Regions from separate parts of the Homo sapiens genome. Here all the other regions are linked to region 5. The links are contacts of gene promoters, found by promoter capture Hi-C in blood cells and fetal thymus (Javierre and others, 2016). All regions are on one chromosome and are shown on one strand. The core of a region is centred on a gene start or on the middle of the fragment in contact, and the rest is flanking DNA. Distances in the headings are between cores, read along the strand shown.

Region 1 (5,465 bases), core at 1,925-4,424, 340 kb after region 5:
TCATTTAGATGGTAAACTGAGGCACAGAGGGGCTAGAGCCTGGAAAATGCCAGAAAGGAGCGAATAAGGGATGACACTCGGGTGTCTACTGGGATTGGGGCCTCGATATGGGATCAGCCCCCTCTAATGCCTCTACCCCCATCTACCAGACAGAGACGCGAAGAGAGACGGACAATACAGCGACAGCGACATGAAGAGAAACAGAATGACTCAAAGACCAGGCACAGAAACAGAGACACAGAGACAAAGGCAGAGACAGAAAAAGGCTCAGCGACCCAGAGACGGAGATACAGAGACACAGACCTACTACAATCAGAGGGACAAGGCAGTCCCCGAAAGGGCTGCCCCCTGGGGGTACCCGGGGCTGCCCCGTTGGGGGGCACGCCAAGAGCTCCCCCACCCCGCCCCCGTCGTGCCTGGGCCGTGACTTCAGAGTCCGTGCAGATTCTATAAATGGCCAAGAGGCCGCGGGCCGGGGGGCGGGGCCGAGTGAGTCATCGCGTGACGTCACCGCCGCCTGGACCTCGCCAGGTCCCGCCCCCGCCCCTCCCGGGCCGCCAGGGGGCGCCGGCTGCAGGTCCTCACATGCGCAGTAGCGAACTGCGGCCCCCGAGGGCCGCTCAGTTTGGGAGGGATCCAGGAATCTGCGCGTTCGAATCCCGCCCCTGCCACCCTCGAGCTGTGTGACCCGGCCATTCGGCGTCACCTCTCTGTGCCTCGTATAGACCCACCTCATAAGGCTGTCGTGAGGAATGAGTTAACAGGCTCAAAGCTCTTAGTACGTAGCAGGTGCTAATTGTTAGCTCATTTTATGTACTTTCTATTTTTTCTTTTTTTTTTTTTTAAATAGAGACGGGGTCTCGCTATGTTGCCTAAGCTGGTCTCGGGTCTCGAACTCCAGGGCTCAAGCGATCCTCCCGCCTTGGCCTCGTATTTTATGTATTTTCGTGTATGTTCAACATATCATGACATGCCATCAACTAGCACATTGCCTTAGCTCAGTGGTTGGCAAACAGGGGTGATCTGCTTCCACCCCGACCCCAATCATGGGACATTGGCAATGTGTGTAGACATTTCTTCTTTTAATTTTTCTTTTTTAGAGACCATGGTCTTGCTATCTTGGCCAGATGGTTCTCAAACTCCTGGGCTCAAGGGATCCTCCCACCTCAGCCTCCTTAGTAGCTGGGACTACAGGGTCCTGCCGCAGTGCCTCAACATTTCTGTTTATTAGGACTAAGAGAGTGCTACTGGCATGTAGCAGGTAGAGGCCAGGCATGCTGCTTGAAGTCTTACAATGAATGCCCAAGGCAGCCCCCCAACCATGAAGAATTATCCAGCCTCAGCTGTCAACAGTGTGGAGGTTGAGAAACCCCACCTTAGCCTCATAGTTGAGGTTCATGGAGCATGGTCTCAAATTCTCCTCTGCCCCTGGCCTGCTGTGTGACGCTGAAAAAGTGATTCCAAGCCCCCGTGCCTCAGTTTCCCCACCTGTAAAGCAAAGTACTTGTATTAATAATAACAGTGTCAGCTGGGCACGGTGGCTCACGCCTGTAATCCCAGCACTTTGCAAGGCCGAGGTGGGCAGATCAACTGAGGTCAGGAGTTCGAGACCAGCCTGGCTAACATGGCAAAACCCCGTCTCTACTAAAAATACAAAAAATAGCCAGTCGTGGTGGCAGACACCTGTCATCCCAGCTACTTGGGAGGCTGAGGCAGGAGAATCGCTTGAACCCAGGAGGTGGAGGTTGCAGTGAGCCGAGATAGCATCACTGCACTCCAGCCTGGGGAATAGAGACTCTGTCTCCAAATAATAATAATAATAATAATAATAATAATAATAACAGTGTCCATCTCTGAGGGCGTCATGAGAATTGAATGGATATATGTACAGAGTTGGAACATGGCCTGACATAAGGGCTGTAGTCTGTGGCATATTGCAGCCATGCCATTAGCATGTGACCGATAAACTGCATATCCTCAACATATCATTAGTGTGTGGCAGGTTGCAGACATGTCATCCAAGTGTCACAAACATGGCCTTGCCATGTGGGGCATGATGTGGGCATAGCATCCACCCCTGTGGTCCAGGGGTGAGATCTGGCTGGGTAGGGCTGTTTGACAGGGACACAGTTCACGGCCTGGGACTTGCCAACAAAGTCACCCTGTAGTTCAGGTGACACACAAGTGGATGGGGAGGGTGAGACCCAGGATCTCTTCTCCCCCAGGTCCTTATGAGGGGCTGGAGGAGACAGAACTGGGGTGCTGGACCCTCAGCATAAAGAATGCTATAGGCTGGGCATGGTGACTCATGCCTGTAAATCCCAGCGTTTTGGGAGGCCAAGGCGGGCAGATTGCTTGAGCCCAGAAATTTGAGACCAGCCTGGGCAACATAGCGAGACCCCGGGCAACATAGCGAGACCCCATCTCTAAAAAAATAAAATAAAATTAGCCAGGTTGGTGGCACAAGTCTGCAATTCTAACTACTTGGATGGGCTGAGATGGGAGGATCACTTGAGCCTGGGAGGTCAAGGCTGCAGTGAGCTGTGATTGTGCCACTGCACTCCAGCCGAGGGGACAGAGTGAAACCTTGCCTTAAAAAGACTGCTATGGCCCGAGTCCCTCTGCTGTGCCGGGCACTGTGCTGGGCATGTAACAGGCATATTCTTCTGATCTTTACAACTCTCCCATGAGGCAGGCACTATCGTTAGCCCATTTTACAGATGTGGCCATAGAGGCCCAGAGAGGAGAAGGGGCTTACCTAAGGCTATAGACTGTTGGTATCTGGAGATAAACCCGGGATGGTGCTCACTAAACTACCTTGGGTGTCAGTCCTGCTTCAAGACTCCAGAGAGATAAAGAGAGATGACCTCAGAGACAAAGAGACTCAGACCCAGCCAGAGGCCCAATGGACAGTGGGAGGGGTGGGTGGAAGAAGGCTGGTCTCTGTCTGACCAAGCCCCCCCAGAATAACGCAGGCTGCCCCCCTAGGTGGAAACAATGACACAATCAGCTCCCAATACCAAGGGCCTGACATCACAAGGGGAGGGGAAGGCAGCTGAGGTTGTGGGGGGAGGTGCCCCGCCCCTTGGCAGGCCCCTACAGCCAATGGAACGGCCCTGGAAGAGACCCGGGTCGCCTCCGGAGCTTCAAAAACATGTGAGGAGGGAAGAGTGTGCAGACGGAACTTCAGCCGCTGCCTCTGTTCTCAGCGTCAGTGCCGCCACTGCCCCCGCCAGAGCCCACCGGCCAGCATGTCCTCTGCTCACTTCAACCGAGGCCCTGCCTACGGGCTGTCAGCCGAGGTTAAGAACAAGGTAGGGCTGGAGGGCCTCCCTGGCCTGGCCCACACGTCCTGCCAGGCCAGAGCCCTGAGCTTGGGGTCCCTTGAACCCCCTCCTGCCTATCCTATGTGACTTGGAAACTGAGAGGGGAAAAGGGAGTGATATGGGATAGGGGCTGCCTGTCTCCCCCTGAACATCCCGGAGCCCCCAGCTATGGTTGGGGCTGGAATGGGGGGGCACACAGCCACACATAAACAGAGGGGGTCAGTCCATTGCAAAGATACCCACCTGATCAGTCTTCTGTTAACCCTTCGTGTTCTTGGGGGGAACAACATAGGGGGAAGACTTGTTGATTTTTCCATATCCCCCGGCCTGACAAAGAAATTGGGGAGCGCTTGAGTGCTGGGGTACCTGGGAAGTGACGCCGTGAAAGTGTGGGAGATCCTGAAGACAGAGGGGGACGGTGAAAGGCAGGAAGCGGGCATCAGAAGTGCGGCAGGGGTCTCCTGACTGTGGAGCTAGGAAGATACCTGGACACCACCTTCATGCTATGGTTGGGTAAACTGAGGTTCGGAGAGGAGAGGCAAATAGCTGGGGTCCCAGGTAAAGCAGGTACAGCGCTCGGACCCTGGACTCACCCCCCATACACCAGGATGGGCTCAGCTTCTCCCAGCTGGAGAACTTTAAGTTTCCAGCCCACTGGAATCGCCCCAACAGTATTGCCGAGGGAGGAGTTCCTGCCCCATTTGACAGAGGGGAACACTGAGGCTCAGGGTGGCTTTTCCCAGGGTCCCATGGTGAGGAAGTGGGGGACTGGGTTGGAACCTGGGTCGAGGGATCTCGGGGCTGGAGGAGGGGGCTGGTGGGGGGCGGGTCCTCGGGCGAGAGACAGATCCCAGCGCCGCCCTCCTCCCCCCCAGCGCCGGCCCCAGAGCCGCGCAGAGCCGCGCAGAGACGCCGCGCCTTATAAGGCGGCCTCGGGGAGCCCGGGCCACGCTATATAAGGGCCGGTTTGCTTTATAAAGCCGGGCTGGTGGCGTGGGGGGCGGCAGGGCCAGGGCCAGGTGAGGGGGCCGCCCCTCCCACCTCCCCCCACTCACCCGGGAGAAGAAGAGGCAGCCCGGTCCCCTAGGGGCTGGGAGCCTGGCTGGGCTTGGGCGGAGGGTTCTGGAGAAATGGGAGTGGAGTGGGGGAGGGGGGGGACAGTGGAGAGAGGGAAAAGCAGGGAGGTGGGGGGAGAGGCAGACAGAGATACTGGGAGCCTGAGACACCCTAGGGACAGACGGGGGAGGGCGAGCCAGGAGCGAGATAAGACCTAGACAAGGATGGAGGGGCAGGGAGAGGAGACAGAGCCCCACCACCCCCACCCCAGGCAGGAAACCTGGAGACAGAGAAAGACCTAGAGAGGCAGATATACAAGACCCAGGAGCCCTACCCCTGGCCAGACAGGGACTAGCCACCTAGAGAGATGGGGACCCAAGACTGGGCCAAGAAAAGACAGCGCTGGGGAAGAGAGAGACAGAGGAGTCGGGGGGATAAGAGGGAGAGAGACATACAGACGTGCAAGGGGTGGGGGCTAAGACAGAGACAAGCCCCCACCACTAACCAGAGACAGAGCCCTGGAGCTGAAGACCTGGGGGACACGGAGAGACAGAGATGTATGACCAGCACTCCTCTGCAAGCCAGCACCCAGGGACACCTCCTTAGACATCCTTCTTCCCTTCCTGAGGTGCCCTCTCTTCCAACAGGGGGCACAGAGGGGGCAGGGCTAGAGGAAGAGAAGCCCCAAGTTTGGCCTGGGCGAAAAACCAGGGTGCCGGGTGCCACCCCTCTAGCTCAGAGGATCCAGCTCCCCACACCCCACCCCTCATCTACATTCCCTGGTGCCAAACCTCAGAATGCCCGGAATGGCCCCCTGGGCAGGTGCCACCTCAGCCCTGGCTCTCAGCCCGCCCCAGCCCCCATCCCCCAACTATGGATCTGGGGCAAAATTGCCTTAGTTGGGAAGGACGAGGGAGATCAGGCTCTAGGAAGTTCAGACAGGACCCAGGGAGCCCAGGCTGCCCCCAATGCATCCTCACCCCTTTCTCTGTGCCCCCTGCCCTCCCCTCGCCCCAGCTGGCCCAGAAGTATGACCACCAGCGGGAGCAGGAGCTGAGAGAGTGGATCGAGGGGGTGACAGGC
Region 2 (5,587 bases), core at 533-3,032, 380 kb after region 5:
TTGAGACAGAGTCTCGCTCTTTCACCCAGGCCGGACTGCAGTGGCGCGATCTCGGCTCACTGCAAGCTCTGCCTCCCGGGTTCTCGCCATTCTCCTGCCTCAGCACCCCCGAGTAGCTGGGACTACGGGCGCCGCCACCGCGCCCGGCTAATTTTTTGTATTTTTTAGTAGAGACGGGGTTTCACCGTGTTAGCCAGGATGGTTTCGATCTCCTGACCTCGTGATCCACCCACCTTGGCCTTCCAAAGTGCTGGGATTACAGGCGTGAGCCACCGCGCCCGGCCTGTTTTTGTTTTTTTTTTTTTTGAGACAGTTTTATTCTGGTTGCCCAGGCTGGAGTGCAGTGGCGCAATCTTGGCTCACGCAACCTCCGCCTCCCGGGTACAAGCGATTCTCCTGCCTCAGCCTCCCTAGTAGCTGTGATTACAGGCACGCACCACCACGCCCGGCTAATTTTGTATTTTTAGTAGAGACGGGGTTTCTCCATGTTGGCCAGGCTGGTCTCCAATGCCCGATCTCAGGTGATCTGCCCACCTCAGCCTCCCAAAGTTCTGCGATTACAGGCGTGAGTCACCATGCCTGGCCAGTCTCCTGTTTTTTTAAAAACTTATTATTTAGCCGGTGTGGTGTCTCACACCTGTAATCCTGGCACTTTGGGAGGCCGAGGTGAGCGGATCACTTGAGGTCAGGTGTTCCAGACCAGCCTGGGCAACATGGCAAAACCTTGTCTCTACTAAAAAGACAAAAATTAGCTGGAGGTGCTCTCTTGAACCCAGGAGGCAGAGGTTGCAGTGAACTGAGATCATGCCACTGCACTCCAACCCAGGAGGAGGAGGTTGCACTGAGCCAATATCATGCCACTACATTCCAGCCTGGGCGACAGAGCAAGACTCTGTCCCCCCCAAAAAAAAAACAGAAAAAAAAAAAAAGAAAGAAATCTGAAGCAATTATGACCAAATGTTAACATCTGTTTCTTCACGTGGTGGGTACAGGCGTGTTTTGGAAGCTTCTATGCTTCCTGTATTTTGAGATCACACAAAATTATGTTTATTATCTTATTGTGCTACATGATCTTTGTAGAAAAGTTGGTAAATTCTGGAATGCACGAAGAAAAAGATTATAATAGCCAGTAATACCCCTGCCCAGAGAGACAGTATCCATTAATTTTTCTCTGCCTATGTTTGTCTTCGGAAAAATGGGATACTATTGGCACTATTTTATAACTTTTTAATTTGTATTAACACTTTCTATATTTTTTAAATTGAAAAAGCTGGCCAAGCATGGTGGCTCAGGCCTGTAAACCCAGCCAATGTGGGAGGATCGCTTGAGCCCGGGAGTTCAGGAACAGCCTGGGCATCGTGGCGAGACCACATTGCTACAAAAAAAAAAAAAAAAAAAAAAAAAATTAGCCAGGCATGGTGGTGCACACCTGTGGTTCCATCTACTCAGGAAGCTGAGGTGGAGGATCGCTTGAGCCTGGGAGTTTGAGGCTGCAATAAGCTACGAATGCACCACTGACCTTCAGCCTGGGCAACACAGCTAGACTCTTGTCTCAGAGAGAGAGAGAGAGAGAGAGAGAGAGCACAATGAAAAAAATAAACCTGATCTTGCACAGAGCATGTAATAAAACCTGTGCGTTCTTGGCTATCTCTCTCTGGTCTCCTCCAGGGTGCTGAATAAGCTCTTCTCTCTCCATTCACCCAGGAGAACTCTCTTCTGCTGATTTTCTGTGGAGCTAGATCAGGCTGTGACTCAGAATCTCCCTCCACCTCCACCCTTTCCTATTTTCCCAACACCAGTGTCAATCTCAGATGTCAACAACCCCACGAGTGAGTTCCTCCTGTTGCCAATACATCCAGGTCCTGTTCTCCGCTGCTGTCTCTACCCAATCCCTTCCCTTCCTTCCTCCTGCCAATCCTGCTTTCCCTGTTTCTTGCTCCTCTGACCTCCTCCGCATTGCTTGACTGTCTCAGATACACTCTGGCCTCAGGGTCTTGGCACTTTCTGTTCTCCCTGCCTGGAAGGGTCTTCCTTAGTCAGATACTGAGGTCACCCATTGTGTTCAAGTTCCTTTAATTTATCTGAAATGAGTCTGGGCGTGGTGGCTCACGCCTGTAATCCCAGCACTTTGGGAAGCCAAGCCGGGTGGATCACTTGAGGCCAGGAGTTCGAGACCAGCCTGGCCAACATGGTGAAACCCCATCTCTACTAAAAATACAGAAATTAGCTGGGCGTGGTGGCACAAACCTGTGGTCCCAGCTACTCAGGAGGTCGAGGCAGGAGAATTGCTTGAACCTGGGAGGCGGAGGTTGCAGTGAGCCAAGATCGTGCCACTGTACTCTAGCCTGGGTGACAGAGTGAGACTCTGTCTCAAAAAAAAAAAAAAAAAAAGAAAAAGATAATTTATCTGAAATTATCTGAAATGCACCACCCTGCCCCCATCATTGACTCTCCTGTTGCTGTAGTTTTCTCTGCAGCACTTACCAGTGCTTGAGAAAACCACCCACTCATTTATCTTGCTTTCAGTTTCTCTTGCTTTCAGTCTGTCTTCAGTTAATGAAAGCTTTTTTTTTCTTTCTTTTTTCTTTTTCTAAAACAGAGTCACCCAGGCTGGAGACCAGTGATGCGATCACGGCTCACTGCAGACTCGACCTTCTGGGCTCAGGGGATCCTCCCACACCCCTTGGCCTCCTGGGGATTGAGACTACAGGCACACACCACCACACCCAGCTAATTTTTGTATTTTTTGTAGAGAGAGGGATTTGTCACCTTGTCCAGGCTGCTCTTGAACTCCTGAGTTCAAGCAATCCTCCCAACTCAGCCCCTCAAAGTGCTGGGATTACAGGTGTGAACCACTGCCCCTGGCCTGTTTATTTAAAAAATTAACATTCATTCTCAGTTTATTGGCTAAGTTTAGAAGTAGTATCAGAATGTTTAAGAGAACTTACTGTTCTCCTTTTATTTGTATGTTTGCATTGTAGATTTTTAATAACTGATAAGGACTTCTCAAGGTGTTTGCTTGGTGGAGACATTTAAAAAGATTAAAGAATAGGCCAGGTGCAGTGGCTCATGCCTGTAATCCCAGCACTTTGGGAGGCCGAGGCGGGTGGATCAAGAGGTCAGGAGATCGAGACCATCCTGGCTAACATGGTGAAACCCCATCTCTACTATAAATACAAAAAATTACCTGGGTGTGGTGGCACGTGCCTGTAGTCCCAGCTACTCAGGAGGCTGAGGCAGGAGAATCGCTTGAACCCGGGAGGCAGAGGTTGCAGTGAGCTGAGATCGCACCATTGCACTCTAGCCTGGGTGGTAGAGCAAGACTCTGTCTCAAAAAATAATAATAATAAATTAAAAGATTAAAGAATAAGCTGGCACAGTGGCTCACACCTGTCATCCCAACACTTTTTGTAGAGACCTCATCTCTTAAAAATAAAATTAGCTGGGCGTGGTTGTGTGCACCTGTAGCCCAGCTACTCAGGAGGCTGAGGTGGGAGCATTGCTCAGGAGGTCGAGGCTGCAGTGAGCCATGATTGCACCACTGCACTCCAGTCTGGGTGACAGAGCTGATACACTGTCTCTAAAAAATAATAATAATTGACCGGGCGCAGTGGCTCACGCCTGTAATCCCATCACTTTGGGAGGCCGAGGCGGGCGGATCACGAGGTCAGGAGATCGAGAGCAACATGGCTAACACGGTGAAACCCCGTCTCTACTAAAAATACAAAAAAATTAGCTGGGCGTGGTGGTGGGCGCCTGTAGTCCCAGCTACTCGGGAGGCTGAGGCAGGAGAATGGCATGAACCTGGGAGGTGGAGCTTGCAGTGAGCCAAGATCGCGCCACTGCACTCCATCCGGCTTGGGTGACAGAGCGAGACTCCATCTCAAAAAAAAAATTAATAATAATAATTATTATTATAGTAGTAAAAGAGTATAGAATAAAATGCATCACACTTATAAAATGTAAAATGTTAATTTCAATCCACTAAACTTATAAACGGACCCAAATATGCATCCAATGACCTCTTAAAGTGATATTTCTTTTTCTTTTTGTTGAGATGGAGTCTCACTCACTCTGTCACCCAAGCTGGAGCGCAGTGGTGTGATCTTCAGCTCGTCCCAACCTCCGTCTCCCAGGTTCAAGCGATTCTCCTGACCTCAAGTGATCCGTCTGCCTTGGCATCCCAAAGTGCTGGGATTACAGGCCTGAGGCCAGGCCCTGAATTAATTTTTTGATGTTTCACTTTGCCAGGTGTATAAGTAACATGTTAGTTGTGATTGTAACTAAATAAAGGCTTAAGGGAAACCGTGTTTCTAAATTTCTAAATTGACTACACATTTACAAAGGAACCCACAAAGATGGATTTTTGGGCCGGGCGCAGTGGCTCACGCCTGTAATCCCAGCACTTTGGGAGGCTGAGGCAGACAGATTGCCTGAGTTCAGGAGTTCAAGATCAGCCTAGGCAACAAGGTGAAACCCTTTCTCTACTAAAATACAAAAAAATTAGCTGGGCATGGCAGCGAGCACCTGTAATCCCAGCTACTTGGGAGGCTGAGGCCGGAGAATTGCTTGAACCAGGGAGGCAGAGGTTGCAGTGAGTCGAGATCACACCACCGCACTCCAGCCTGGGCAACACAGTGAGACTCGATCTTAAAAAAAAAAAAAAAAGATGGACTTTTTCGGGGCCCCAAGGCTTCAAAATTCAAAATGCTGTCATGAGTTAGTTTGATTTGAGGAACCAAAAATTGGCTTTTGTGGCTGGAGCAGAGTGAGCAAGGGGGAAGTGAATCCGGAAGGTTGAGTCTGCAAGGTCAAGGGCAAGGAACAGAGAAGGGTGTGGGTGGGGCAGGTTGCGTGTGCTCTTGGGGGCTGCAGGGAAGGGGGCTTTTATCTGGGTAAGGTGGGAGCCACAGAGGGTTCTGATCAGAGGGACAGATCTGACTTAGATTTTGCATGATGTCCCCCAGCTGTGGGCTGCGGGGCATGGGCTGCTGAATAGGTGGTTTAGGTGGGCAAAGATGGGTCATGGTGCCCCCTACCCTTTAAAAATTAAAAGACAGGGCCAGGAGCAGTGGCTCACGCCTGTAATCCCAGCACTTTGGGAGGCTGAGGTGGGCGGATCACCTGAGGTCAGGTGTTTGAGACCAGCCTGACCAACAAGGTGAAACCCCATCTCTACTAAAAATACAAAAAAAATTAGCTGGGCGTGGTGGCAGCCACCTGTAATCCCAGCTACTCGGGAGGCTGAGGCAGGAGAATCGCTTGAACCCGGGAAGCAGAGGTTGCAGTGAGCCAAGATCGTGCCACTGCACTCCAGCCTGGGCGACAAGAGCAAGACTGTCTCAAATAATAATAATAGGCCGGGTGTGGTGGCTCACACCTGTAATCCCAGCACTTTGGGAGGTTGAGGTGGGTGGATCACTGGAGCCCAGGAGTTTGAGACAAGCCTGGGTGACACAGTGAGACCCCATCTAAATTATTATTATTATTATTATTTGAGACAGAGTCTTGCTCCATCACCCAGGCTGGAGTGCAGTGGCGCGATCTTGGCTCACTGCAAGCTCCGCCTCCCGGGTTCACGCCATTC
Region 3 (5,259 bases), core at 191-2,690, 260 kb after region 5:
ACATTCACGTGTGCACGTGGACAGGTGGATGGATTCGTGTGCCCACATCTGTGGTCTGTGTCCACATGGACGTAGCCCCAGCTTCTGTCTCTTTCTGTCTATCCCTGTCCACGTGTCTGAGTTTGGCCAACCAGTCCCTTAACGTGTCTGGGGCATGTCGCTGTGTCCGTCTGCGTCTGTCCGTGTGTCCCCGTGGTGTGACTGTCTGCGTGGTTGTTTCTCTGTGTGGCCCCGTGGGCTGCTAGCCCCTAAGCCCTGCTCCCTGGGCCCCCCCCACCCCCGCCCCAGTTGGTAAACATAACCTGCCAAAATATTTTCTTTTTTTTTTTTTGTCTTTTTTTGTGTTTTTTTTTTTCAAGTTCAAGAATCCCCAGTAAAAATTCTCCACGAGGTCTTTTTCCCTTTTTACAAAAATAGAGTTTTTCTTCCCCTCCCACCCCCCTTTTTTTTTCATTTTGTTTCTGCTTCCAGCCCCACTGCCTGCTCCCCCGCATTCCACCAGGGGGCACTGGGCCGGGGGTGCCCACACCCCTCCTCACGGTTCGCTTTTTTGGGGATTTTTAAACCTGTTCCTCCTACCCCAGGCCCCACCTAGGTGCTGGGGAGGCCTGGGCAAGGGGGTCTGGGAGGGCACCCCCTGGAGCCCCCCAAGCCATCCCATCGGGGGTGGTCGAGGGTGGGGGTGGGGGCACATCTCTGCATTCTTTTTAGCCGAAAAAAGAAACAAAAACCTTCACCATGAACCAAACCAAGACGAGAGAGTGAACAGCCCAGCCTGGGGTGGGGGCAGGAGGATGGGGCGGGGGATCCCCGGGCACCCCCCCAATTCCCTGCAGACCCTCCCACCCCAGAGTGCTCACCCTGTGGCTTCCGCAGGGACGTGGGGCCCTCGCGTCGTCCGTGGGGCTGCCTGTGCTGTCTCTCTTGGGCCCCTTCTCTCTCTCTCTCTCTCTTTCTCTCTCTCTCTCTCTGCTGCCCGGGGAGGGGGTGGGAGGGCAGGCGGGGTGGGCTCACGCCTTGTGCTGTTTGCTGGTCTTGAAGGAGACCTGCAGCACGCGCTCGCCCAGGCGATAGCCGTTCAGGCTGGCGATGGCCATGGCCGCCTCGTCATAGTTGGTCATGGTCACGAAGCCGAAACCCTTGCACTTGTTGGTGGTGAAATCACGGATGACCTTGACGTTGGTGACTGCCCCAAAAGGCCCGAACAGCTGCCACAGCACGCTCTCGTCTGCCTCCGGTGACAGGTTGTACACGAAGATGCACCAGCCGGCGCCCGCCGCGCCCCCCGACAGGCCCACGCCCGCCAGGCCGCTCATACCATCGATGGCGATCGGCGAGAACCTGGCGATGAGCGACAGGGGACTACTTTGGGGGTCACGCGGGCTCTGCCCTGACCCCCCGCATGCTTCTGACCCCGTTGTGACCCTTCACACCTTTATGACCCCTGACTGTGCCATGACCTTGGAATGGTGTGACCCCTGCAATGCAATTTTTTTTTTTAGAGACACGGTCTCGCTCTGTCACCCAGGCTGGAGTGCAGTGGTGCAATCATGGCTCACTGCAGCTTTGACCTCCTGGGCTCAAGCAAACCTCCCGCCTCAGCCTCCTGAGCAGCTGGGACTGTAGGCAGGCGCCCTCACACCCAGCTAATTTTTTTTATGATTTGTGGTGACACAGTCTCACTATGTTGCTTAGGCTGGTCTCGAACTCTCAGGCTCAAGCAATCCTCCTGCCTTGGCTTCCCAAGTAGCTGGGACTACAGGTGCACCACTATGCCCCACTAATTTTTTTTTTTTTTTTTCTGAGACGGGGTCTTGCTCTGTTGCCCAGGCTGGAGTGCAGTGGGATGATCTCAGCTCACTGCAACCTCTGCCTCCTAGGTTCAAGCGATTGTCCTGCCTCAGCCTCCCGAGTAGCACCTGCCACCACGCCCAGCTAATTTTGTATTTTTAATAGAGATGGGGTTTCTCCATGTTGATCAGGCTGGTCTCGAACTCCCGACCTCAGGTGATCCGCCCGCTTCGACCTCCCAAAGTGCTGGGATTACAGGCATGAGCCACCGCACCCAGCCATGCCCCGCTAATTTTTAAAAATTTTTGTAGAGGTGGGGTCTCGCTGCGTTAGCCAGGCTGGTCTCGAACTCCTGGGCTCAAGCAATCCTACCACCTTGGAGTTCCAAAGTGCTGAAATTACAGGTGTGAGCCACTGCACCCGGCTTTCCTTTTCAAATCATATATTTATTATCATCAACTTCATCTTCCCTGCAAGAGTTTGTTCCAGCCCCTGAACAACACCTAGTAAGCACTTGGGAGGTGTCTGTTGAATGAATTAATGAAAGGACAGAATTGGCTCCACTCACATTCCTCACTGGCAATCCCGCCCTTGGATTAAACCCCTCAGCTGGGAAGGGAGGACCCAAGGGCCTGAACCATTCAATCCTGACCACGAGGAACAAACTACTCGCTCCTTCTGGCCCTCTTTGCACAGGCTTTTCCCACTGCTAGGAACTCCCTTTCCACTCTGCCTTTGTGTGGATGTTGCCTCAGATGGGACTGGGGGGTCTCTGCTGCTGGGTCTCCGTCACCCCTTCTTTTTTTTTTTTCTTTTTGAGACGGAATCTCACTCTGTCGCCCAGGCTGGAGTGCAGTGGCACGATCTCAGCTCACTGCAACCTCCGCCTCCTGGGTTCAAGCAGTTCTCTGCCTCAGCCTCCCGAGTAGCTGGGATTACAGGCGCCTGCCACCGTGCCCAGCTAAATTTTTGTATTTTTAGTAGAGATGGGGTTTCACCATCTTGGCCAGGCTGGTCTTGGACTCCTGACCTCGTGATCCGCCTGCCTCGGCTTCCCAAAGTGCTGGGATTACAGGCGTGAGCCACCGCGCCCGGCCTCTGTTACCCCTTCTACTTCACAGCTTTCATCACCATTCATTTCTCTGTCTCCTCCCCCACTAGACTCAGACTGAGATCTTCTTTTACATTTTTTAATTATTTTTTTTTTTTTGAGATGGAGTTTCGCTCTTGTTGCCCAGGCTGGAGTGCAGTGGCACGATTTCAGCTCACTGCAACCTCCTCCTTCCATGTTCAAGCGATTCTCCTGCTTCAGCCTCCTGAGTAGCTGGGATTACAGGCATGAGACACCGCGCCCAGCCACATTTTTTAATTTTTGGAGATAAGGTCTCGCTCTGTCACCCAGGCTGGAGTGCAGTGGCACCATCATAGTTCACTGCAGCCTCCAACTCCTAGGCTCAAGCGATCCTCCCGCCTCAGCCTCCTGAGTAGCCTGAACTACAGGCATGCACCACCGTATCAGGCTAATCCTTAAAAAAAAATTGTAGAGAAGGATCTCACTATGTTGCCCAGGCTGATCTTGAACTCCTGGCCTCAAGTGCTCCTTGCCCCTCAGCCTCCCGAAACACTGGGAGCACAGGCGAGAACCACCACGTCTGGCTTTGATGTCACATCTCTCAATGGCCATGCTACTCCAAGACCCAGGCAAACAAGGCTAAGCCTGCAGCCCTGGGGGTGAGCTGGGGAGGGGTGCATCAGGGGCATGGATGGTGAGGGGTGGGGACAGTGGGGCGGGGTCACTGTTACCTCTTGACGCCGTAGGCCATGTTGAGCAAATTGTCCAGCCTGTGGAGGCAGAGGTGGTGGTCAGAGGTGGCTTCCAGTCACGCCCCCCTGCTGTGACACCGTCGGCCTGCCCTCCCCACCCCCACCCAACAGGCCTGCAGCAGAGCCCTGCCCCCGCCTGCCTGCTCCCCGCCCGCCCGGCTAGACACTGCCTGGCACGGAACCGTGGTCACTCAGGCACCGCCTCTCGCCTGCCCCACCGCTGTCCAGCCTGCACTGGCCTCCTCATCCATCCTCCCCCTCCTGGCTGGCGGGTCCCCTCTGGGCCCAGGCGCTGGGATCCCTGGGGAAAGATAACTCCTAACAAAGGCGACAGTAACTACCACAGCCAACATTCTCGCAGCACTTGAGGGGGTGGGTAACTTGCCCCGGCCACCCGGGGGCCCACAAGGGGCTTCCATTGTCTCCCCTTGGAGTGGCTATGAGCTTGGACTCCAGGTCCTGGGTTTGAGTCTCTGCTCTGTTTGGGCCAGGCAAACCCCAACACCTCTCTGTGCCTCAGGGTCCCCGTCCATAAAACAGGGACAACACAAGCTCTGTTCTCATCGGGTTGCAGAAAAATAAGGGTGTCTAGCACACAGCAAAGACTCATGAAATATTTGGTGTTATTACAGATGGGAAACTGAGGCACAGAGCTACAGCCACGTGCCCAAAAGAGAAAGGGGCCACCAGAGCTGGAACCCAGATGACGCCAAAATCTTTTAACACCAAGAATGCCAATCGTCGCGGCCAGCACACATTGAGGGCCTGCTGTATATGAGTGGCTGGCCTTGGCACCTGACAGATAGGCTCCTTGGCTCCCATGTGTGCGCACCCTCCCGGCATCCCTCCCTTCGGCAGGAATGGGGTTCAGGGAGGGTTGCAAGCTTGGGGGCACCCGGCCTGGGGCCATCTGGCTGGCAGGGGGCTCACCGGAAACGCTGGGTCTGATGGTGTAGGGGGCCTGCGTAGCGCCGGGCGGATGACTGGTAGAGGTGGGTGAGCAGCGCCTGCCCCGTCTTCTGACTTGGGTTGTTCGCGAACTTGACTGTGATGGGCTCAGCTGCGCCCAGCGGCTTCTGCCCATTCAGTCCTTTGATAGCCTCTTCGGCCTCAATCCTCTTGTCAAAGCGGATGAATCCCACACCCCGAGAGACACCTGCCAGGGGGCAGGGATGTCCATCACGACGACCCTGTCCCCTCCTGTGTAACCCCACTTCTCCCTTCCCTGCTTCATGCCCTGGCATCTTGGTCGGTTTCCCCACGTTGGTCCCACCTGACTGCCTTTGCCCAGCGCCCCCGCCAGGTGCACCCTCCCTGACTGCCTGACCTGTGACCTGGTCCACCAGGATGCGGGACGTGATGATGCGGCCGTACTGGGAGAAGAGCTGCTCCATCTCTTTCTGGCTCATGGTCTTGGGGAGCCCGCTGACGTACAGGTTAGCATCCCGGATGGATGCTGAACTGGGTCTGGCATAGGACACCTGGGTGAGGGGGTCAGATGGACAGGGGTGAGGCAGAGACCCATTTCACAGATGGAGAGAGTGAGGCCATGTCTAAACCATCACGGAGTTAGCAGAAGTGACCCATCCGTCACTCAATAAGTATCTCTAGAGTTGTCACCGTGGGGTGGGGCTGAGTCAGATA
Region 4 (5,325 bases), core at 2,805-5,304, 280 kb after region 5:
AATATAATAACAAAATAATAACAGCAAAGCGAAGCTGAGTACCTGCTCTCTGCCGTGCCCTGGGCATCATGACATTTAAACCCACTCCATCGGTTGAGTCTATTAATTCAATTCAACAAATATTTACTGAGGGCTACACATGTCAGACTCCACCCTCCTCATGCTGTCCTCTGATAGTTAGGTCACCTCTCTATGCCTTTCTGTTCTTCCTTAAGGAAGGTATGGCACAGAGGTCTCACATGTATGGAGCTGGATTCTGAATTTGCATCCTGGTTCATTAAGAGTTTTGTGGGGTTTTTCTTTTCCTTGTTTATTTTTGAGACAGGGTCTTGCTCTGTTGCCCAGTCTAGAGTGTAGTGGTACGATCATGGCTCACTGAAGCCTTAACCTCCTTCTGCCTCAACCTCCCAAGTAGCTGGGACTATAGGCTTGCACCACCCAGCCGGCTAATTTTTCTCTTTTTCTGTAGAGATGAGGTTTTGCCATGTTGCCCAGGCTGCGATCCTCCTGCCTTAGCCTCCCAAAGTGCTGAGATTACAGGTGTGAGCTCCACCATGACTGGCCCTGGAGATGGATTCTGAATTTGCATTTAAGCTCATTGAGGTAAGAGTTCTATGTTGAGTTGCTGATATTTGCTATAAGAGCCCAGTGAGCAGTTGGCAGTACACAAGCCACTGCTTCTGGACATGCTAGATCCCTATTTTTTTTTTTTTTTTTTTGAGATGGAGTCTTGCTCTCTTGCCCAGCCTGGAGTGCAATGGCATGATCTTGGCTCAGTGAAACCTCTGCCTCCCGGGTTCAGGCAATTCTTCCACCTCAGCCAGGTAGCTGGGACCACAGGTGTGCACCATCGCGCCCCGCTAACTTTTTATATTTGTAGTAGAGACGGTGTTTCACCATATTGGCCAGGCTGGTCTCGAACTCCTGACCTCATGTGATCCACCCACCTTGGGCTCCCAAAGTGCTGAGATTACAGGCATGAGCCACCGTGCTAGATCCTATTTTTGAACTCCACTGAGCATGTGCAAAGTTTTCATTGACCTCCCACAACCACAGTGAATGGTATGAAGGGTCTCCTCCATTTCTCAGATGGGGACACTGAGGGTTAGTCACAGGGACCTATGACTTGTCCAGGGTGACAGGAGGAGGTGGAGGGGATGGTGTCAACATCTGACTCCTGATCCGATGACCCTAGAGCCGAAAGAGTTACTGGCTGCCCCCCTCCCATGGTGTCCCCAACCTGAGCAGAGTGAAGAGGTGACTGGGTGGTTCAGACCCAGGTTCTTGAGGCCTAGCCTGCTAATCTGGCCACCACCCGTTCTCCCTCCCATTTGTGCCAGAGCTTAGCGGGACCAGTATCTCGTTTCCTCTGTGGCTGAGCCGGCTGAGCTGATAATGGGGATCAGATTGATGGAAGCCACACCCGCCCTGCCCCAGCCTGCAGTAAGTGCACAGCCTGGGATGGTGGCTACATGGGCATCAAAGGGACTTCGGCGACTGGCCCCAGACAGAGATGGGGGGGTGGCAAAGTCAGGGAGGAGGAGGGCAGATAAAAGATGGAGGGTTAGGGAAGCTTCCCATTCTCTCCAGTGCTTCTTCTAAGTCTCCCCCGACTTTTGGTTTCTCTCTCCCTCTTTCTTCCTCTGTTTCCCTCTCTTCTCCACTGTCCTGCCCTCTCTCTGAACCGTTCTGTGTCCCTGGCCTCATCACTCTCTCTTCCTCTTTTCCACCATCGCACATACATCTGACGTATGGGTTTTGCAGTGAACACACCTGAGGCCACTTTTTTCTTAAAACCTCCTGTGTCTGACCCCCACGGCCCCCAGCTGCGGCCCCTGGCCCCAGTCACAGTGACAGATGCCTGGATACCGGCGACAATAGGGCATTGAGTGGCTATGCATGGTGAGGCTGGGCTACCACGTGGTGCTGACTGAGCCTCCTACTTCTGGGCCCTTCTTCAATGCAGGGTCCTCCTGGTCTTAATTTGTCACCTCTCTTCCTCCCAGCCTGTCCCCATGATACATCTCTGCCCCAGGGCTCGCTCACTGGAGAACCTAGGTCCTCAAGGCCCTTGTGTGACCTCTGACCACACCCTCTTTCCCTTTGTGCATTAGTTTCCTTTTTCAAATGAGAGAACCGATCAGAGGACGCTTAGGAGATGCTGGACTGTTGCGGGAGTTCTGAGGTCCTCAGGAGGCCACACTCCAGTTCCCAGACCTGGGTGAACAGCACGAGGCCCAGAGAGGGAAAGGAACGGCCTGAGGTCACACAGCAGGTGAGCCAGGCCTCCGGGACCTCATTTCTCAGAGCCAGGTGGGCGGGTCCCAGGGTCCAGGAGGGGAGAGGCTTAGGCATGGAGGGAGCGCCAATCATGCCCCCACCCCCAGTGCTAGCCACGACTCGAAAAAGGGGCCCGGAAAGAGACACAATGCACAGAGACACACACGCAGAGACGGAGAGATAGGAAGAGTGGAAGAGGGAGGCCCAGGCGCCGGGACCAGACAAAGGACGCGCGGCGGCGCGGGGAGCGGAGTCGCGCGGCAGGGGCGGGGGTGGAGCCGGGGTGGGGCTATAACTGGCCAGCCCCGCCCCCGGGATACGCCCGGGCTGCCGAGTGGGAATCCGAGGGCTCGGGCGAGGCCGGGCCCCCGGGGCCCTGGGGGCGGGGCCTAGATGGGCGTGCCCGGGCGTGGCCAGGCAGGGCGTGGCAGGGCGGGAGGGGCTGCGCGCTCGGGAGCTGACCAGCTCCGTGGCTGCTGAAAGCACCGAGCGCGGGGCTAGCGGTGCGGGCGAGCAGGCGGGCGGGCCGCGCTCAAGGTCACCTCGCGGCCCAGAGCCTTGGCGAGGTGGGGAGCCTGGACCTGGCCTAAGGGGGCTGTCTCGGCCTCCCACCCCATCTCCCGGGGGGCGGAGACCCGGGAGCCCAGAGGTGCCCCCCCAACCCGCGGGCCCTCCTCTCCCCTCCCCCTCCCCGCAGCCCGAGGCGCCCGCGCGAGGCTGCGGCCCGCGAAGAAGCGCCGAGAAACAAAGGGACGCGGCAGCAGCGGCGGCGGGCCCGCGGGGCCTCCGGGCGCGCCCCCTCCTCTCCCCTCCCCGCTTGCCGCAAGGTCGACGGGCTCGAGGACGAGACGCCCGCCTCCCGGGTGCGGCCGAGGCCCGGGGCGCGCGATCCGACGCCACCCGCTTTCCCAGGGCTCTCGGGGACGCTTTGTCGCTTTGGCTTGGCCCAGCACCAGTGATCGGGCCCTGCGTTTGCCTGGGCGGCCTGCGGGGTCTGGGCCTGGATGGAGGAAGCATCCTTAGCCGCCGCGGCCCCTCCCCCATCAGGCCTGCTGGAGAGGGGGCAATCCCGCCTCCAGGGCGGCGTCGGACGCCTCCCGAATCGCAGTCAGTCTCCCTAAGGCCCTCTCAGACCAAGCTCTAAGCGCCCTCAGCACTCTGGGCGCGGCCCTGCCCACTCTCAGGCCCCGAGGCTTGGTCCTACCCCCCCAACCCGGGCCTAGCTAGGCCTGGTCCTACCCCCCCCGCCGCACCCGCCCAATCTCCGCGGAGCCTGGGCCCAACTCCTCCCCGTCCCGATTCCCTTTCGGCGACAGGGGAATACCTACAGTGACCATTCTTGTGTGCCCGGCGGGCGCGGTCCGTGTTGAGGGGGGCTCCGGGGGTGGTGCACTCCTAGGGGGGCGCCCGATGCTCACGCTGGGGTCCCGCCCGGGCGGCCTCTGGTGCGGCCGCTGCAGATGTGGCGATGAAGGCGGCGGCTCCCTCGAGGGCCAGGGACGGGCCCGAACCCGGGGATGCGCGCGCGGATGGCCGGGCCCCGGGGTGGCCTGCGGGCGGCAGGGGATGGAAAGAGGGAGCGGGCGCGGGGTTGAGGACGCCCCCTGCGCGGCCCCGCGGGGCCCGGGGAGGTTGCGCTTCCCGACAGAGATCGCGGCGCTCTGCCTTTCGCCGCCGCCCCTCGGTCGGTCCTGTCCGGTCCCGTGTGTTCAAGTCCTCTCCCCTCGCCCACCCTCCCTCCCTCCCTCCGGCCCGCGCTGCGCGCTCCGCGCTCTGGACCGCGCCGCCGCCGCCCCCAGCCCTTTATAGCAGCAGCTGCCAGCGCCGGCGTCGCTCATTGGCTGCGGCGACCGAGCTCCGCCTCCTCGCGGCTCCCGACGGCGCGGCAGGTGGAAGTGAGCGCGCACTGGTCGGGACTCTGAATCCCCCAAAAGCGCATCCTAGGTGCTCGGGTTGCCAGATTTGGGCCCTCCTTCCCTCGAGGCCCTTGCTTCCTACCCTGGCACCCCTTCTTGGGCTGGCTTTCGGGCCAGGAGACGGGCTCCCCTCCTCCGTCCAGCTCCTAGAGCTGGAGGAGCCAACAGAGCGAGGAGGTATTAGTGGCCTGAATATGCGACCTTCCAGAGGTGTTGTCCACTGAGGGAACTGGACAGGGGATCAGGAACCAATATTTTAGTAGGCAGAGGCCTGGGTCCCCAGATTTGGAGGCACCAGTGTAGACCACCTCAAGACCACGGGGGAGGGTGGCTACTGTGGCCCTAGTCTTCTGCAGAAGGAGACTGGGACGCTGTTGGTTTTGAGTGAGCTGGATCCTTCTAGGGTTCAAAAGGTAAGGACTGGCACTCCCCAGTGCAAGGAAACTCCGCACTGCTCCGAAGGGGGTGAAAAGGTTTGGGGCTCAGTGTTCTGGACAATCATCGCTGGAGCCATGCAGCTCTGGGAAACCACGGATCCTTCTTGGACCCCACAGAACTGGGGTGGGTGGATCTGCCACATAAATGTCCTGGCTTTCTAGGCTCGTGATTGGTCCTCCTGACTGTGGAGTCATGCTCGCTCTCTGCTAGGGGGAACCTGGCCTCTCTCTAAGGCGTTGGGGGTGGCGCAGCCTCCTTTGGTGCGCGGGCGCCGGTGCATGTTTACGTCGGGGCGCGGGAACTAGCACACACTGGGGCGGGGTCGCCAGGGCGTGAGGCTTCAGCACCACAGACAGCAATCCGACAGTCCGGTCGAGGGCGCTGCCGGCGAGGTAGCCCAGACCCCCTAACTGGAGAGCGGCAGTCCCCACCCAATCCTCGTTCCTGCACGCCCTTTAGGCTCCAGACTGTCAGAGAGCGCCACCAGCGAGGAGAGCCTAATTTGCCCAATCAGGGGCGGCCCTTGAGATAACCAGTTACTGGAAGATGCCCTAGAGATCGAGCCAATGGGAGTGCGCGCACCAGGGGATGCTGCCACGCCTGGAAAGGGCAGGCCAATCGCAGTGGCCCGCGCAATAGGGGCGGTGGCGGTGCAGATCCCCGGGTGGCCCCTCTTGGGCTCGCCGGGGCG
Region 5 (4,086 bases), core at 63-2,562:
TTTTTAGTAGAGATGGTGTTTCTCCATGTTGGTCAGGCTGGTCTCGAACTCCTGACCTCAGGTGATCCGCCCGCCTTGGCCTCCCAAAGTGCTGGGATTACAGGCATGAGCCACTGCACCCAGCCTAACATCAACTCTTTTAATTGTCATGACAATTCTATGAGATGGGCACTTATCGCCCCGTTTCACAGACAGGGGATGCAGAGGGTACAGAAAGGTACAGTGGCTTCCTCGGGGTCACTGGGGCCATGGGGAAGTGGCTGGGCCTGAACATGAACCTAAGCCTGGTGGATCCCCCCACTGCCCACCAAGCCACCACCCTCAGACTCCACATCAGATATCTCTACCCGTTTCCCAGATACGGAGACTGAGGTCTGAGGGTACTCAGTCATCTCACCGCCCTCGATGAGGACCAGCACGTCCCGAGTAAGGGGAAGAGAAAGGAGACGAGGGGGTGTGGTGGGGGAGATGGATGTCTGTGGCTGAGACCCTTCTCTCGCCATGGGACCCCTGGGGAATGGGGAAGGGGTGACAGGATAAGACAGAGATGGAGAGACTGGAGCCTATAAGAGGGGACAGGTAGGGAGCGCAGGGAAGGGGCGCGGGTCTCCCCAACCCACCACCCAAGACCGGCCTGCACATCGCGGAGGTCGGTGGTGGTGGTGGGGGGGGGTCTTCCCGCCCCAAACTCGGGGTGGGGGGAGGCGAGAAGGACCCCGCCCCGTGCAGAGAGGGGGCGGGGCCTGTGGGATCCCGGGCTAATGGCAAACAGCTGCCGCTCCCCACGCCGGCCCAGCCGCCAAGCCCAGGCCCAGCCCGGCCGGACGCCCGGCCGCCTTCCCGCCGTCTGGGGCATGGCCGCGGAGGAGGGCGAGGGGGGACAGTGCGGGGAGAGGGCAGAGCCGGGGAGGAACAGAGGCAGAAAGTGGGACAGAGACAGGGGAGAGCGGGCAGAGGGGAGCCAAGACAGGAGAAACGGGCAGGGCACGAGGAATCGATGGGGGGTACTGGGAGGAATCGATGGGGGTATGGGGTCAAAGACGAGGAGGGGGCAGGGACGCGGGGACAGACACTCCAAGTCTGGAAAGTTTGGGCACAGAAGGTGGAGTTGGAGGCAGCGGCTCGTTGAGACCAGCGAGGTCGTGTCCCAGGGTTGGAGGCGGGGGGTAGGGTAGTAGGTGTGTGTGGAGGGGGTGCACACTCGATCCCCGAACCAGACTTGAACCCCTACCCAGCCCCGGGTCCCACTCGCCTTGCGCGCTCCGGCCGCTGCCTTCCCTGGGTCCCGCCGCCCGAGCGTCTTCGCGCGCGCCGCAGCCTGGGCGCCCGGCCCTCGGAGGTGGCTCCGCCCGCACCACGCCCCCTCCGGCTGGTCCCGCCCCCCCAGCCGGCACCGCCCCCTCCAGCCGCCCGGGCGCCCCGGCCGCGGTGGGGGGTGGGGATGGAGAGACGCTGGTTGGAGACTGGATCTCACCTGGACAGCAGGTGTGTGTGCGCGCCGGGGTGTCCGGCCTCGTCCTTCCTTCCTCCCTAAGTCCCCGAGGCAGGGTCCTCCCACTGCCGGCCTCCCCCCCACCGCCTGCTGTCCCTGGGCCGCTGCGGGGGGCGGAACGGCTCGGCGGCGGGAGGGGGTGGAGCTGGCCGGGGCCCAGCTCGGGGAGGGCGCGCGGGGCGGGCGCGGCAGCGGGAGGTCACCCCTCCCCCAGGCGGCCCAGGGCTGGAAGCGGCCCAGCGCAGTCCTGGCACACGGTGGCGTGACCGCCGCGCGAGAAGGGAGGCTGCAGAGTCCTGGGCGCCGGCGCCAGCCAGACCTGCATTCCCATCCCAGACCCACCAAACTTTTGCTGCTCTGTGCCTCAGTTTATTCATCTGTAAAATGGAGATGATCATGTTAGCTACCTGATAGGAGCGTTGAGAAGATTCACTGACCATTAGGAAGGGGCCTAACCATCAGGAAGGAGGCCCTTCGGGTTAAAAACTCTCATAAATGGAGTGGCCTACTTTTGCAGAGATCTTTCTGGGAGCCCTTTTAGTACACAGCCAGCCACTCAGCAAGGGCTTAATAAATATTATTAAGCCGGCGAGGTGGCTCACACCTGTAATCTCAGTGCTTAGGGAGGCCAAGGCAAGAGGACTGCTTGAACTCAGGAGTTCGAGACCAGCCTGGGCAACATAGCAAGACCCTGTCTATGCAAAAAAATTTTTAAGTGAAAAAAAATTAGGCCAGGCGCAGTGGCTCATGCCTGTAATCGTAGCACTTTGGGAGGCCAAGGTGGGCGGATTATTTGAGCCAAGGAGTTGGAGACCAGCTTTGGCAATATGGTAAGACGCCATCTCTACAAAAAACAAAATACAAAAAACCACCTGGGGCCGAGAAATGGCTCATGCCTGTAATCCCAGCACTTTGGGAGTCCGAGGTGGGTGGATCATCTGAGGTCAGGAGTTCAAGACCAGCCTGGCCAACATGGTGAAACCCCTTCTCTACTAAAAATACAAAAACTATCCTGGCATGGTGGTGCACATCTGTAATCCCAGCTACTCGGGAGGCTGAGGTATGAGAATAACTTGAATCTGGGAGGTGGAGGTTGCCGTGAGCCGAGATTGCACCACTGCACTGCAGCCTGGGTGACAGAGTGAAACTCTGTCTAAAAAAAAAAAAAAGAAAAAGAAAAAAAAGCCAGGCACAGTGGCATGTGCCTATAATCTCTGCTACTCAGGAGGCTTGAGCCCCGGAGTTTGAGGCTGCAGTGAGCTATGACTGTGACACTGCATTCCAGCCTGGGGGACTGAGTGAGAGCGTCTGTTAAAAACAAACAAACAAAAACCAGGTATTGTTATTGCAGGTAAGCATGTGACATTATTTGTGTGTTGCCTTCCCTACTAGAACATCAGCTCCACAAGGGCAGGAATTTTTGCCTGTTGTCACCACGATGTCCCTGGCACCCAGTATGTTCTTGGTGTCCCCATTGATGATGCAGGGATGTGTGGATATGGGGCAGTGGACTGTGAGCATGTGATGAGCATGTGACCCAGCCCCTAGTGACCGCACCACATGGCACAGGTTGCTTATAAAAACCATTTTAAATTAAAAAAGGGAGGAAGCATCAGTGCACACAGATGGGGACACAGGGGCAGAGGGCCCAGCCCCAAGTACAGTGTGGTCACCCCACAGCCCAGTGGGCACCAGGGCAGACTCCCCTCGCAGCACAGACAGCTGAGGCCCGGGTGCTGGTTCCTCTAGGTACAGCTTTGGTCCTTGTGGGCTCAGAGGTCTGCCTTTCGGAAACTTGCTCTGTTCAAGGAGTTCCTGGAAAAAGAATGAGGGTGGGTCAGCATGGCCATGGGGCCCCCAACTCCATAGACCTCCCAGCCCACATCCTCTTCCTCCTCCTCCTCGTCTTCCTCCAAGGATCCTTCTGGGATCTCTCCTGTCCCTGATCTGGCTGTGGGATTCTCCGATTCTCTCTTGCAGTCCACCACGGAAGGTATGAATCATCCCCATTTTACAGATGTAGAAACTGAGGCTCAGAAAGATGAATTCATGTATCTGGGAAATGACTGCTCAGAGCCTGCCCTGCCTTTGTACATCTGGATGACATATTCAGATGCTTATGCAAAATTGAAGCCACCGCAGCCAGGCGTGGTGGTGGCTCATGCTGTAATTCCAGCACTTTAGGAGGGCAAAGCGGATGGATCACCTGAGATCAGGAGTTCGAGACCAGTCTGGCCAACATGGTGAAACCCTGTCTCTACTAAAAATACAAAACATTAGCCAGGCGTGGTGGCAGATGCCTGTAATCCCAGTTACTCAGGAGGCTGAGGCAGGAGACTCGCTTGAATCTGGGAGGCGGAGGTTGCAGTGAGCCAAGACTGTGCCAACTGCACTCCAGCCTGGGCAACAGAGGGAGAGTCTCTCAAAAAAAAAAACAAAAAAAAAACCGGAAACAAAACAAAGTCCAAGCTACCAGCAAACATGTTGCTGTGTATGTGTACAACAGCCCCCATCCTGTACCTGTCCTGGTCTGCCTCTGCATCCCCTCTCTAGTCTCTAGGATGGGGGCACTAGGTCAGGCACCTGAGGCCGGG

The links. Contacts are between HindIII fragments. The CHiCAGO score rates a contact against its expected background, and 5 or more counts as called.
Region 1: a contact is called between the fragment with the promoter of CNN1 here and the fragment with the promoter of KANK2 in region 5, in 4 of 17 cell types (M0 macrophages, neutrophils, erythroblasts and 1 more). The highest score is 10.4, in M0 macrophages.
Region 2: a contact is called between a fragment that was not itself captured here and the fragment with the promoter of KANK2 in region 5, in 1 of 17 cell types (erythroblasts). The highest score is 5.4, in erythroblasts.
Region 3: a contact is called between a fragment that was not itself captured here and the fragment with the promoter of KANK2 in region 5, in 3 of 17 cell types (neutrophils, erythroblasts and M0 macrophages). The highest score is 7.1, in neutrophils.
Region 4: a contact is called between the fragment with the promoter of ELAVL3 here and the fragment with the promoter of KANK2 in region 5, in 1 of 17 cell types (neutrophils). The highest score is 6.1, in neutrophils.

Annotation. Positions count from the first base shown.
Region 1 is chr19:11,535,677-11,541,141 of GRCh38, forward strand. It overlaps CNN1 (calponin 1), which reads left to right and starts at 3,175. Exons shown (of 7, transcript NM_001299.6): 1 at 3,175-3,314; 2 at 5,400-5,465. The coding sequence starts at 3,252. RefSeq lists silencers at 273-342, 353-722, 4,151-4,200 and an enhancer at 2,146-3,091. The HindIII fragment of the contact is 23,519 bases long and covers 1-5,465 here.
Region 2 is chr19:11,579,360-11,584,946 of GRCh38, forward strand. LOC124904638 (a long non-coding RNA gene) reads left to right here. Exons shown (of 2, transcript XR_007067140.1): 2 at 4,058-4,305. Among named protein-coding and RNA genes, the nearest start is that of ACP5, 4.5 kb to the left of the region's middle. RefSeq lists enhancers at 2,425-2,624, 4,526-4,665, 4,676-4,735 and a silencer at 2,760-2,925. The HindIII fragment of the contact is 1,557 bases long and covers 1,005-2,561 here.
Region 3 is chr19:11,453,516-11,458,774 of GRCh38, forward strand. It overlaps ELAVL3 (ELAV like RNA binding protein 3), which reads right to left. Exons shown (of 7, transcript NM_001420.4): 4 at 4,943-5,096; 5 at 4,546-4,771; 6 at 3,595-3,633; 7 at 1-1,362. The coding sequence ends at 1,011. Among named protein-coding and RNA genes, the nearest start is that of PRKCSH, 21 kb to the left of the region's middle. RefSeq lists a silencer at 355-536. The HindIII fragment of the contact is 6,113 bases long and covers 1-4,497 here.
Region 4 is chr19:11,476,992-11,482,316 of GRCh38, forward strand. ELAVL3 (ELAV like RNA binding protein 3) reads right to left here and starts at 4,055. Exons shown (of 7, transcript NM_001420.4): 1 at 3,609-4,055. The coding sequence starts at 3,617. RefSeq lists silencers at 2,573-2,767, 5,142-5,325. The HindIII fragment of the contact is 20,383 bases long and covers 1,572-5,325 here.
Region 5 is chr19:11,196,233-11,200,318 of GRCh38, forward strand. KANK2 (KN motif and ankyrin repeat domains 2) reads right to left here and starts at 1,313. Exons shown (of 13, transcript NM_001136191.3): 1 at 1,253-1,313. DOCK6 (dedicator of cytokinesis 6) reads right to left here. Exons shown (of 48, transcript NM_020812.4): 47 at 4,076-4,086; 48 at 3,063-3,307. The coding sequence ends at 3,265. RefSeq lists a silencer at 1,177-1,796. The HindIII fragment of the contact is 22,502 bases long and covers 1-4,086 here.